5 separate regions of the Homo sapiens genome follow, and all the other regions are linked to region 1. The links are contacts of gene promoters, found by promoter capture Hi-C in blood cells and fetal thymus (Javierre and others, 2016). All regions are on one chromosome and are shown on one strand. Each heading gives the region's core, a stretch centred on a gene start or on the middle of the fragment in contact. The rest is flanking DNA. Distances are from core to core; before and after follow the strand shown.

Region 1 (2,578 bases), core at 1-2,500:
CTTAAAAATGTAAAAGACATTCTTAGCTCGTAGACCCTTACAAAAACAGGCAGCAGGCTAGATATGGCCTGGGGGGCATAGTGAGTGGACCCCTGTTCTAGTGGATATCCTCTTCTCAAAACCTGATGTTTAAAAGCATTTTCCAGGTGTGCCGTTGGTCAATGATTGGGGGTAACGCTAAAAGAAAACCAGGTTAATTTAACAAAATACTAACATTAGAAAAATAGCCACATCTGATTACAGACTTTGTATAAAGCCTCTAGTCTTTACTTTTGGCTATGAGGTTTTATGACTCCAGGCCCCACAATACAGGCCCCTTTTTTCTCACGGTCAAACTCTACAAGACACGTGTCCGCTATTCCCCTCTCCTGGGCTCTTCCAGGTGCACAGAGGGTGGGACTGCGTGCGGTATCATATACTGGTTAGGACAGCAGCTCCGGTCTAAGGCCCTGTCAGCACTGACTAGCCACACACAGGGAGAGTCACCTAAACGTCCGATGCCTTAGTTTCTGCCTGTAAAATGATATAAGAGAGTTGATAGAGCGGTTAAAAAAATCAGACAATACCATACTAGCCTAAGCACAGCGCCTGGCACACAAAGACTCCGCAGTAAAAGGCGGCTCCTATTATTGGAACAATTAGCATAGAAACTCAACTGCCGCTCCTCCAGGTGGGCCTCAGAGGGGGTCGAACAGGACCAGACCCAGGAGGGCCCCACACCAACTTCCGGAGGGCAGGACTCTGCCTGCCAGTGAGCCCCAGATCCAGGGACTAAGGCAGCAGGGGTGAAAGCAGGTAGGGGGAAAGGCGGGATTTGGGGGACAGGCAGCATGGGGGAGGGAGCAGGCAGCGGGGGATTGAGGGGAACTAGCAGCACGGGGGTTGGGGCACAAGCAGTACGGGGGAGGAAGCAGGCAGTCGGGGGTTTGGGGGGACAGGGAGCACGGGAGACGAAGCAGGCAGCCGGGGGTTTTGGGGGGACAGGCAGCGGGGGAGAGAGCAGGAGCAGGGGGTTTTGGTGGGACAGGCAGCGGGGGAGGAAGGAGGCGGCAGGGGGTCTGGGGGAGACAGGCAGCGAGGGAGGGGCGAGCGGGGCTCCTCCCACGGGATCCCCCGAGTGCGCCCGCGACGAGGGGTGCCGGTCCTCAAACTCCCGCTGCTGGAGCAGGCAGCAGGAAGTACCTCACCTTTCAGGATGGGGGCCGCCATGACAGACGGCGGGATCCGGCCAGCTGGCCTACGCGGTGCTTGCGAGCCTGGCGGCGCGCGCGGGCACTGGGCATGCGCGGGGTGAGCGCGCCGCCGTCACCGCGCTCCGCTGAATCCGCGTTTCCGGGATTTCTCTGTAGGTGAGGCGGGAGGCTGGAGGGAGCTGAGCCCCCGGGGAGGGGGCCCGATTCCGCCTCGCCGCGCCTCTGGCTGCTGGGCCGTGGGTTTTTCTCTTCTCCTGGGAGTAAGGAGGACGACGGCCCCTAACCCCTGAATTAGCCTTCTATTTCCATTAGTGACTTAGAAGCTACCCGGCGCCTCATCTGGGCTCACCTGAGCTGAGGATCAGGAAGGGGAGGGGGCACAGTCATTCCCTCGCGGACGCGGCGGGACCCCAGCGGACGGCTTTGTGCGGACTTTCGGCACCGTTATGCCCCCCTAGCCCGACACCACCTGGGGCTGGCGCGCCACGTTACTGTTCAGGGCCAGACGCACCGCCCTGCCTGCTCCGGGGAGCCGGACCTCCGATCCCGGGGATGGGGGACCCCGAGACCTCAGACCCAACGGAGGGGACTCTGATACCTCAGACCCCACGCGGGGACCCCGAGGCTTCAGACCCCCACAGGGTGACCCCGAGATCTCAGACCCCCGCAGGAGTACCTCCAGACCTCAAATCCCCAGTAAGGGAATGAAAGAGACTTCGGATCCCTGAGGCAGCAAATCCCTGTAGGGGCATCCCAGGACTCAGGTCACCGCGGGGTGAACCCAGACCTCACATTCAGGCAATCCCCAGGACGCCGATCGGCTGGCACTACCCACTGTCCCGGCCACCCCCCCTGGAGCTCAAAGGCTTGGCCCTCCAGCTGCTCCACCCTGCCGGCAACCAGGCTCAAACCTGCAGCCCGCGGATCCCCTGCCCCGGAAGCAACCAGATTCGCGGGAGGTTACCTGACTGATCCAAGGTGATACAGCTGGTAACTGATGGAGATGTTGGTAGTGAAATTCATGTACTTTTAGTTCTTTCTATGGAATCTAGAGGTAGAATACATGTAAAAGAATATCGACTACCGTCTACTCAGGTCTCTGTTTTATCTGTTTATTCATTCACTCTCAGCTTTTAATAGGATCCAATGAGCCCTCTGTGGTTCTGAAGAATTGCCTTGAGTATATGCAGCCTCAAAAAACCCACTTCCTAGGCTCAGTCTTTGATCAATATTTATCATTATCACCAGTTATTGTTCTAATAAACTCTACTCTGGAAATATGGTGTTATGGTTTACTTGGGAGTGTGAGTTCAGGGCATCATTGAAGACTCACGTACTTTTACTGAGAAAGTGACATTGATCTCTGTAGATTTTGAATTAAATGA
Region 2 (2,578 bases), core at 58-2,557, 360 kb before region 1:
TTGAAAGTGTTCTTTAAGAATCCAAATACATTGGGCCAGGCGCGGTGGCTCGCGCCTGTAATCCCAGCACTTTGGGAGGCCAAGGCGGGTGGATCATCTGAGGTCAGGATTTCGAGACCAGCCTGGCCAACATGGCGAAACCCCGTCTCTACTAAAAATACAAAAAATTAGCCAGGTGTGGTGGAACACGCCTGTAATCCCAAATACTTGGGAGGCTGAGGCAGGATAATTGCTTGAACCAGGGAAATGGAGGTTGCAGTGAGCCGAGATTGAGCCACTGTACTCCAGTCTGGGCAACAGAGCAACACTCCGTCTTAAAAAAAAAAAAAAAAAAGAATCTAAATACATCAGTTCTCTGATCTAAGCCAGGTTCTTTCCTCATCTTTGTTTCCATTATATAAACAAATGATCTCTCACAGTAGTTACTGCTATTTTCCACTCTAGCCAATGATAAAACATGGGGATGGCAGCGGTGGGTGGGAATTCCGGCTTTTCTCCACCATCTTCTCTGCAATAAACTGAAAGACCTTATAAAAGATGGGTGCAGTTGAGGAAAAAGAATAAAGGTGGTCATGGGCAAATGAAAACTGGTTAATTGTCCGAAAACTATCAAGAACTGACCTGTGACCCAGACAGAAAGTAACTCTGCATGTCTCAACAGAGCACAGTATACACGAGCTTGAATAACCAGAAAGATGTTTAGCAACAAATCCTCCTCACAATCATGTGTTGAGTTCCAAAACACTTCAGAAAATAATGGACAATTACTTATTCACACATTTTAGACAGCAAATAAAACTGAATTGGTTTAGCAAGAATAATAATCTCTCACATTGGTGTTAAAATTATATAAGAATGTATTTTTATACCTAGAATCTCAAACTAGTGAGAGTCATTTCCCTGAACTCTTTGAAGTAAATACATATTCTCCCCTCTTTACAGGTAAGGGAAAGCTCAAACAGGAGAGGAATTTTTTTTTTTTTTTTTTTTTTAATACGGAGTCTCGCTCTTGTCGCCCAGGCTGGAGTGCAATGACGCCATCTTGGCTCACTGCAACCTCCGCCTGCAGGATTCAAATGATTCTCCTGCCTCATCCTCCCAAGTAGCTGGGATTACAGGTGCCTGCCACCACACGCCTGGCTAATTTTTGTATTTTTAGTAGAGACAGGGTTTCACCACGTTGGCCAGGCTGGTCTCAAACTCCTGACCTCAAGTGATCCACTTGCCTCGGCCTCCCAAACTGCTGGGATTACAGGCGTGAGCCACCGCGCCCGGCAGGAAATTTATTTAAAGTTATGCATGTAGTGACACAGCACCAACTCTTTTAGAGTCTGGGATTTACCTTGATAAGGTAACTGTTGGTACAAACTATCCAAAACCTGGCAGTATGCTTGCAGATGCATTACTTTTAGTGGTCAAGCTACGCTGTGGCATGGGGTTTGTGATGACAGTGAGATGAGATGATGCCCGCAAGAGGCTTAGTGCACTGCTTGTTTACTATCACTACAAACTGAACCTTTAAAATATGACGTAGTATTTAATAGCCGTATTTGGCAATACAACATATATACACAACATGTAAACTTTATCACATATACAAGAAATAACTTTTTATCACCAATTTTTGAGATGCATATTTTCCTTTATTGCTGAATTAATGAGGCACCAATAATCTCAAAAACACAAGTCAGACTTTATTCTGAAAATACCATAAAGAGACAAAAAGAGTTAGTCAAGTATTCTTGCCTGCTGGAGACACAGAATTTCAATAGCACCTTTTTTAAAAAAAGACATGAACATTTATAAAATTGCAGAACATATCTTACATATTCACATATAAAATCATGAACCAATAATAATCCGGATGGAAAAACTGATCTGTTTCATCAACATCAATAAACATTTTGTTGAGAGTTTGTTCCACATATTATACTTCCCTCAGTATATTAGAAGTACTTCAGCTTTCTATTTGAAGTGGTTTTCCTAAAAATAACCTTTTCCCCTGCTCAGGATAACCAGCTATTATTATAGTATACATATTATAATAACAAGGTATATGTCTTTGACCTCATATATGACTCCCCAGTTGCTACAGGAATAGATTTACTTTTCATACACAAATTGGAAAAGATGTCAAATATTGATGATAGTATCGAAGAGTTGTAGCTACTCTAAACTGAGTAAATTAGCGATTGTACAGACGAGCACTTCATAATAGTTGAAGGTTTTAAATTCAGTTAATTACATGAATATTTGACAAGTATGTGAATGTTGTAAATATTTTGACCAAAGTACTAATTTTGATTCTAATGATTGCATGTTACATAGTCTCTATATAATGTCAATTATACTAAGTGATAACGTAATTTCAAGTTCTTTAATCAAAAAGTGTGAGTTACTCGTAATGAAAACTGGCCCAAAAGGAGGGAGAAAAAATCTTGTTTATAAAGCAAGCCATGCAAAACTACAACGACATTGCATTGTAGCTTTCCACCAGATACGGAATATCTGCCAAGAAAATATTTCACTCAATCTTCAATCTAAACACTACTAAAAACAAATTAAGGTTAAAATTATT
Region 3 (2,578 bases), core at 35-2,534, 330 kb before region 1:
AAAAACAGAAACATTAAAATTATACAGCAAAAACTCCTAGCTTGAGAACTGAGTTACAAAAACTACACTAATAACTTTGATTGACAGCCAAAAGACAAAAATAAGTTATGCACACCAAATCTTTTCAAATACAAACAGAATACAGGAAACAAGACAGGAGCTCATGGGAGAAAACTACGTTTATTGGATTCATTCTTGCCAGATCTCAGACAGTACTCAGACAACACTGTCTACCTCTGTACGTCTGGTACAGAAGCCTTCCTTCATCTGGATGACCTATGATCATACAGCTCCTACTTAAAAACCTATGTGGTACTGAATTTTTTCTTTAGATACTGGTATAATGGTATCTAAAAATTTCGTACTTTCAGCTTCCACGCAAATATGCAAGCTTTTTGTTCATTCATATAATAGTCTTCAGAACCCACACCTAACTTAGAAATTAACAGATAATATTATATGTATCTTTATATTTAATAATTTATATTATTTTTAATAATTAATATTATTATTAAACAATAATTTATATGTATAATTATATTTAATAATGAAGATTCACCAGATCTGTTAAGAAAATGTAGAAAAGTGGGTACAATTAGGAAAAACATACAAAATTCCTTATTATATTATAGCAACTAGAAGGAAAAACAGGAAGACAAACATTAAAGCTAGTTCCAAACACCACACATTCATTTTCATGAAAATGTGTTTTGTAACAGTAAGGTTTATATTCAAAGCCATGAAAGCAATTACTGTGGGCTATCAGCTTTCAACTCAGTCATTTATAAATAAAACGATTATTTCTCAGGTTAATAACTCATGTGGTATTATTTGCTGTCTTAGATGTTTAATTTAAAAGAACATTGACAGACAGCAGGAAGGCATGAATTCATTCACAGCTAATTCAGAAACTATTTCTTATATACTTATTATGTTCCAGGAACTGCACAAAGGATAACAACACATATGGTCCTTCCCTTCATGGACAAGTGAGGAAAAGAAATACATTAAACAGATAAATAAAAACATGTCGTTACATATCATGATATGATTGCAAAGAAAAAGAACAAGGTGTGATGAAGGAAAATGATGAGAAAAAATTTAGGAAGGGCAATGGGGCTAGGAACTAAAGAATGGATAAAAGAATGAGTGCTTTTCCCTAAAGATGAGGAATATGGAAAGGATTTCCCTCACACCAGTTCTAGTCAAGGCTGTACTAGGAGGTCTAGCCAGAAAATTTAGCAAGAAAAAGAAATAAAAGCCATCAAGATTAAAAAGGACAAAGTAAAACTGTTATTTCTATAACAATGACATGATTGTTTATGTAGGAAATCCTAAGGAATATATTTTGTAAGTTACTAGATGATAAATAAGTTTAGCAAGGTTAGTATATTAAAAAGTCAAATATATGCCTAGGTCAACAAACAAAAACTTGAAATTTTTTTAAATGTCATCTACAATAGTATCAAAAACTGAAATTCTTAGGGATATATCTGGCAAAAGATGTGCAAATCTGTACATTAAACTACAAAACACACTGAGATAAATAAAGAAGACCTAAGTAAACAAATGCAGGCTACGTTCATGAATCCAAAGATTCAATCCTGTTATATCAATTCTTCCCAAATTCATCTATATCTTCAATACAATCAAAATGAAAAGCCCACAAACTTTGGGTAGAAATTGTCGAGCTAATTCTATAATTCACACAGAAATGCAAAAAACCTAAAATAGCCAAAACAACTTTGAAAAGAAAGAACAAATTTAGAAGACAACTACACTATTTAAAAACTTACTGCAAAGCAAGCATTATTAAGACAGTATGGTATTGGCATAAGGATATATATATATAGATCAATATAACAGAACAAATGCTCCATTGATCTAGGGATAACAGACCCATCTATATTCAGTCTACTTATTTCAAACATTGGGGGGAAATAATCTTTTCTATAGTGATGGTTACCTATATTAAAAAAATATGAACTTCGATCTTACACCATATGAAAACATTAATTATAAATAAATCCTAGAACTAAATGTAAAAGCAAAACTCTAAAATTTCCAGAAGAAAACAAAGGAGAAAATCTTAGCAACCTTAAGTTTGGCAAGGACTTCTTAAATAGGATACAAAAAGTGGAAATTATGAGAGAAAAAAAATCAATAAATTAAGCTTAAAAGTATGTTCTTCAAAAGATACATATAAATGTATAAAAATAAAAAAACACACGTACTCAAAAAAGATACTATTCACAAATAGGAAAAGGTAAGTAACAGATGCAAAAAACTTGTACAGGAACATTCTTAGGAGTGACAGGCTCATCTCATTTTATCATGCTTCGCTTTACTGAGCTTCACGGAAATTGCATTTTTTTCCCATTGAAGGTTTATGACAACCCTGCATCGAGCAAGTCTATTGGTGCCATTTTTCCAACAGTATGTGCTCACCTCACGTCTCTGTGTCATATTTCGGTAATCTCACAATATTTCATATTATTATATCTGTTATTGTGATCTGTGATCTCTGATGTTACTATTGTAATTGTTTGGGGGTGCCATGAATTGCACCCATATAAGA
Region 4 (2,578 bases), core at 24-2,523, 280 kb before region 1:
CTGCATTTATTTATGTTTATGAGGAAGACCAAAGTAAAATGGCTACAAAGATGTATATTAAAACCTCACCCATTTGTTTCCTGAATTGATTGATGCTTTTCTGGAAGAATATTTCCTCAAATTTTTGTGCTATTCATAATGTGGCAGTTATAGACATAATACAGTTTTTGTTTGTTTGTTTGAGATGGAGTCTCGCTCTGCCGCCAGGCTGGAGTGTAGTGGCACGATATCAGCTCACTGCAACCTCCACCTCCCAAGTTCTAGTGATTCTTCTGCCTCACCCTCCCAAGTAGCTAGGATTACAGGCATGCGCCACCATGCCCAGCTAATTTTTGTATTTTTAGTAGAGATGGGATTTCACCATGTTGGCAAGGATGGTCTCAATCTCTTGACCTCATGATCCGCCTGCCTTGGCCTCCCAAAGTCCTGGCATTACAGGCATGAGCCACCGCACCCTGCCATAATACACTTTTAAGTTTAATCCACGGTAACATTTTTCTCTATCATTTTCTTAAGTCCAGAGAAACAAGAAAACAATCAAGCTCTGGTTTATAGAGCTTGCTAGTTTCCCTGGTGTAAATACTCATACCATGGCTGAACATGGAGGTGGGAAGAGATGCACAGTAGCGTACCGTGACATGGTATTTCCACTGTGCAGACCCAGTGCATGCAAATAACCTCAAGAAGAGATAGTAGTAAAATAGTTACACATATTTGAATATTATTTGTTTAAATGTTTGTAATTATAAGCTTATATAATGTAATTCTTAATAATGGCTCACAGAACTCCTGAAAATTTATTGCCTCTTGTGAGGCAATACTCACAGGCTCTAGCACTGCCCTGGGTTATCAGTAATGAACCTACACTACATTTAGCCTATTATTTCAGTTAGCTGCATTAGGGGCTTAAAACAACAACTTATGGTTTCTCAAGATTCTGTGATTTGACTGGGCTCAGCTGGATGGTCGTTCTGCTGGACATGGTGCCAGTGGGAGTCACAACGCTGTTGCCTTCATCTGGAAGCTCAGCTGGGACTGGGACACCCACCTGGCTTCACACAGACATCTGCACTTCAGCTGGGGGCTGGCTGAGTCTCTTCCCTCCAGCAGGACAGCCAAACTTCTTACCTGATGACTCTAGGCTTCAAGTGAGGGAGTGTGGAAGCTGTGAGGTCTCTCAGGAGCTGGTCCTGTAAAAGGCATGTGTGCACTGCATCATATCCTATAGGTTGGAGCAAGTCTCAGGGCCAACCAGATACAAATGAAAGGGAAATAGATTCCACCTCTTGATGGGGAGAGTGGCAAGTGTGTGCAGCAATTAGAGGAATTGTTGGCAGTCATCTTTGAAGACAACCTACCACCCTTATCTATGTAGTTTATCTTCTGTCTTCCACATTAGCATATAAACCACATGAGGGCAAGGAGTTTTATCTGTTTTGTTCACTGCTGTGTCCCTGACACCCAGGACTGTGCTTGGCACACAGAAGACACTAAGTATAATATTAGATGAATATATCAGTGTCAAACTATTTTCTTAATTCTCTGGTTTCTTCTAGTTCTTGCCCATATATATGTATATAGTTGGATAATTGCTCCAGATAATTGCTTTTAATGACATGAATGTTGGTATAACGGTAGTAAGATCACGATAAGATCTGTGGCTCTTTCAAGGTTGGGATTTTGTTTTTAATTAGGATAAGTTTTCCTCCGCTAAGCGAATGGCTTGTCTTTTTTTCTTTTGGACACGGATTTGTTCAACTGATCCTCTGCTGTCATGTTGGATGCAAGAAAGCTTGCTCAATTTTCAGATTTTAGATCTTCAAAGCATACATTTTGCTTTTTATTCCACTTCCGTCCCTAGTATAGGTTCTAGCGTGCCATTCCCTTTGTCTCATCTTTTGCACTTATATCAAAAAACCATTTATTTATTTATTTATATTTTTATTTATTTATTTATTTTGAGACGGAGCCTCACCCTGTCACCCAGGCTGGAATGCAATGGCACGATCTCGGCTCACTGCAAACTCCGCCTCCCGGGTTCAAGCGATTCTCCTGCGTCAGCCTGCCAAGTAGCTGGGATTACAGGCACACGCCTCCACGCCCAGCTAATTTTTGTATTTTTAGTAGAGATGGGGTTTCACCATGTTGGCCAGGCTGATCTCGAACTCCTGACCTCGTGATCCACCCGCCTTAGCCTCCCAAAGTGCTGGGATAACAGGCATGAGCCACGGTGCCCGGCCCCAGAAAACCTTTTAAAGAATAAAAGACAAATTGACCTGAAGCTCTTGCCGTATTTAGTATAGTGATCTATGTGATTATATACATCTTGTAGAAGTTTAATCTCTCCTGTACCTGTTTTCCTGTGCCATTTATCCACACTTCTGCATAACAGTTAGTTTTTAAATTAATGTATTTTTGTGGCAAAATACATATAAATTAAAATTTACTATCATAACCAATTTTAAGTATACGGTTCAGTAGCACTAAGCACATTGATGTTGTTGTACCATCAACCTCCTTCATCTTGCAAAACTGATACCCTGCACCCACTAAACAACAACCCCTGACTCCCACCTCT
Region 5 (2,578 bases), core at 55-2,554, 260 kb before region 1:
GTTGGCCTGGTGTGGACCTTCTTTTTCTCTTGTCTCTGTCATGCCTGTCTTGATTGATTTTGATTCTACTCCCAGGAATTTCTCCTCGGGGTAGGGCCCTGGCCCAGACAGGCACTCAGATGGGTCAGTTTTGAGAGTTCATGGGAGATAGAGAGCTCCAGACTCTTGGGCCCTTCCAGCTGTGGGTCCCTTGCTCTCGATTATATGCAGTTGCATTGGGCAAAACCCAAGCGCTTTCGTCCAGTTGGCCCTGCTGGGCTTCCTGGTAATACAGAGCAAAAGATGGAGAATAACCTTGAGCTGTGTGGTATTCTGCTGTTCCCAGAGCTGTCTGCTGCTGCCTGGAGTTTCCTTCTTCCACCCATGCAGAACCTGGAACCTCATGGGGCTCGTGGCTGGCAGTAATTTGCCCCTTGTAAGGAGCTCATAAGGTGCCCTTGGCTTAGGTTTGCTACCCAGGCCATCTATTTTTATGTGGGGACCTAAAACGTTTTAAACAATATTAAATTCTAAGTTTAAAAAATTTTTTCTGTAAGTTCTATCTGCCTCCTTTTCAATTCCATCTTATCATTCTTGTTCCGTTCTCATGGTTTTCCGTCCTTTTATTTCTTTTAACATGTATCATCCGTATCTGATGACGCCAACACCTGAAGTCTTGGTCTATCTGGTCCTGTTATTTTTCCTAATGATTGTCTTGATGATTTATTTGGAATTGTGTGTGTGCACGCATTCTAATTGATGGTCATATTGGTGGGAATCATCAGAAGCCCAGGTTCAGGGACATTATTCCTGGAAGTTGTGTGTCTGCTTCTTCCAGGTGCCTAAGGATGTTGCTGACAAAGGATGTTGCTTTGTGTTTGCCTTTGTGCAGATGTTATCCTTCTCCCTTCTTAACTTTCTTCCTGGGAGTCTAACCCTTCCAGAGTGTCAGCTTTATCAGGTTGGTCTCCATTCCAACTCCCCTGTCCCGGCCCACCTCCCATACACACACACATGAATGCACATATACACACATGCACACACACGCAGATGCACACACGCCCTGTGTATACACAATGCTCGGTCAACATGATGTTCCCCAGCTTGGATGTCAACCTGCTTCTCCACCTTGTCTCCAGTGGTAGAGCGTTTCTCTACCTTTCTTGCAAATTCCCTACCATTCACTCTGCATTTTCAGGGGTCCATTATAATGTTCATTATATTGCTGCAAACATAAGTCACTGATTTACTTTCTTGGATAACACAAATGGCTCAGTTTAGAAGTCTGATGATTACATTCTAGAATGTTTAATATGCCTAAAATGTGGTTATAAAGTGGTGGGCTTTGCCTTTAATTGGCCCTCCAACATTTCTCTGTTGAACACCTTTAGCAACAAGAACTTGGCTTCTTTGTGTCCATGGAGGGCACGCTCTGGGCCGGCTGAAGCACCAAGCACCTTTTCCCTTTAGCTGAAGGAGCTGGTTCCCGTGAGGATGTGGATCCTCCCAAGACTGCTGACACTTTATGCCTGAGTCCAAGACTCATCCAGATTGACTCTGTCCCCCTGCTCCTCCTGCGTAGCCACTCAGGCAGCAAATAATTTCATTTCCAAAATTTCATTTCTAATCCACCTCCTCCTTTCCCTCTCTGTGAGCACTGTGTTCTGCGCCTTAACATTTCTTGTCTGGAAAATTTCAATAGCCTTTCTTAACTACCCAACGCTTATATCTCACTTGCGTCCCCTCAACGTGCCCTTCCACTGGAAGTTCCAGCAATCCTGAGGCCCTCAGACCTCCCCTCACCTTCGGGACTGGCACGGGCCTCTCCCTTGGTCTCTTTTCCACTCGGAACTCCTATGCTTCCTTTGAAACCTATGTTAGAGAGTCAGGCATGGTGGCATGCACCTGTAGTTGCAGCCACTCAGGAGGCTGAGGGAGGAGGATCGCTTGAGTGCAGGAATTCAGGGCTGCAGTGAGCTATGACCATGCCTCTGAATAGCCACTGCACTGCAGCCTGTGCAACGCAGTGAGACCCCACCTAAAAAAAAAGAAAACTCACCTAAGTTAGATGTCAGTTTCTTCTGGAAGTATTTCCCAAGCTCTTTTCCTTTCCGTTTAAAAGCAATCACCCTTTCTCAAAGTTGTCGCTCTCCCTGGTCTGCAGTGAACTTATCACACTGTGTTGTCATTTGTTTTCCAGCCTCATCCCCCTTCAAGGCTGTCAGCTCGCTGAGATAGGTGCTGTATCTTCATTATTTCTGGCCCTTGGAGCCTGTACAGTCATTGATACAGAAGAGCTGCCCAATAGAGTTCTTACAAATTTTGGCTATTTCTGTTTGGTGTGAATCAAACTCCAGCACTTGTTGGAAGGTGAGTGGAGGCAGGGAGAGGGCACCACAAGCCCTGTGAATCCAGGGTAGGAAAAGCAGGTGGAGATGAGGCCTTCAATAGATGAAGCTGCAAAGTTACTGCTTTGAACAGAAATGTGGAAAAGATCCTCATATCTTAAAAATAGTATCCCTTTGCTTCTGGTGACAGGCTAACTTCGGTGGGTCCATCAGCATTAGGGACCATGGGGGTCATTTCACCAAATCTCTTT

What was found. The method cuts DNA at HindIII sites, captures the fragments that hold promoters and counts their contacts. A CHiCAGO score of 5 or more calls a contact.
Region 2: a fragment that was not itself captured here is called in contact with the fragment with the promoter of MCPH1 in region 1 in 17 of 17 cell types (total CD4 T cells, fetal thymus, activated CD4 T cells and 14 more); the score reaches 31.4 in total CD4 T cells.
Region 3: a contact is called between a fragment that was not itself captured here and the fragment with the promoter of MCPH1 in region 1, in 12 of 17 cell types (activated CD4 T cells, total CD8 T cells, total CD4 T cells and 9 more). The highest score is 23.9, in activated CD4 T cells.
Region 4: a contact is called between a fragment that was not itself captured here and the fragment with the promoter of MCPH1 in region 1, in 16 of 17 cell types (fetal thymus, total B cells, naive B cells and 13 more). The highest score is 23.9, in fetal thymus.
Region 5: a fragment that was not itself captured here is called in contact with the fragment with the promoter of MCPH1 in region 1 in 8 of 17 cell types (total B cells, naive B cells, fetal thymus and 5 more); the score reaches 10.1 in total B cells.

The regions. Positions count from the first base shown.
Region 1 is chr8:6,405,299-6,407,876 of GRCh38, reverse strand. MCPH1 (microcephalin 1) reads right to left here and starts at 1,250. Exons shown (of 14, transcript NM_024596.5): 1 at 1,188-1,250. The coding sequence starts at 1,209. MCPH1-DT (MCPH1 divergent transcript) reads left to right here and starts at 1,329. Exons shown (of 2, transcript NR_040040.1): 1 at 1,329-2,171. RefSeq lists silencers at 989-1,168, 1,429-1,508. The HindIII fragment of the contact is 9,682 bases long and covers 1-2,578 here.
Region 2 is chr8:6,760,547-6,763,124 of GRCh38, reverse strand. It overlaps AGPAT5 (1-acylglycerol-3-phosphate O-acyltransferase 5), which reads right to left. Exons shown (of 8, transcript NM_018361.5): 8 at 1,622-2,578. Among named protein-coding and RNA genes, the nearest start is that of MIR4659B, 17 kb to the right of the region's middle. The HindIII fragment of the contact is 3,469 bases long and covers 1-2,578 here.
Region 3 is chr8:6,738,421-6,740,998 of GRCh38, reverse strand. The region is part of intron 4 of AGPAT5 (1-acylglycerol-3-phosphate O-acyltransferase 5); the gene reads right to left. Among named protein-coding and RNA genes, the nearest start is that of MIR4659A, 5.5 kb to the left of the region's middle. The HindIII fragment of the contact is 1,782 bases long and covers 394-2,175 here.
Region 4 is chr8:6,684,271-6,686,848 of GRCh38, reverse strand. The region is part of intron 1 of MCPH1-AS1 (MCPH1 antisense RNA 1); the gene reads left to right. Among named protein-coding and RNA genes, the nearest start is that of MCPH1-AS1, 23 kb to the left of the region's middle. The HindIII fragment of the contact is 1,042 bases long and covers 753-1,794 here.
Region 5 is chr8:6,662,177-6,664,754 of GRCh38, reverse strand. All of the region lies in intron 1 of MCPH1-AS1 (MCPH1 antisense RNA 1), which reads left to right. Among named protein-coding and RNA genes, the nearest start is that of MIR8055, 41 kb to the right of the region's middle. The HindIII fragment of the contact is 8,157 bases long and covers 1-2,578 here.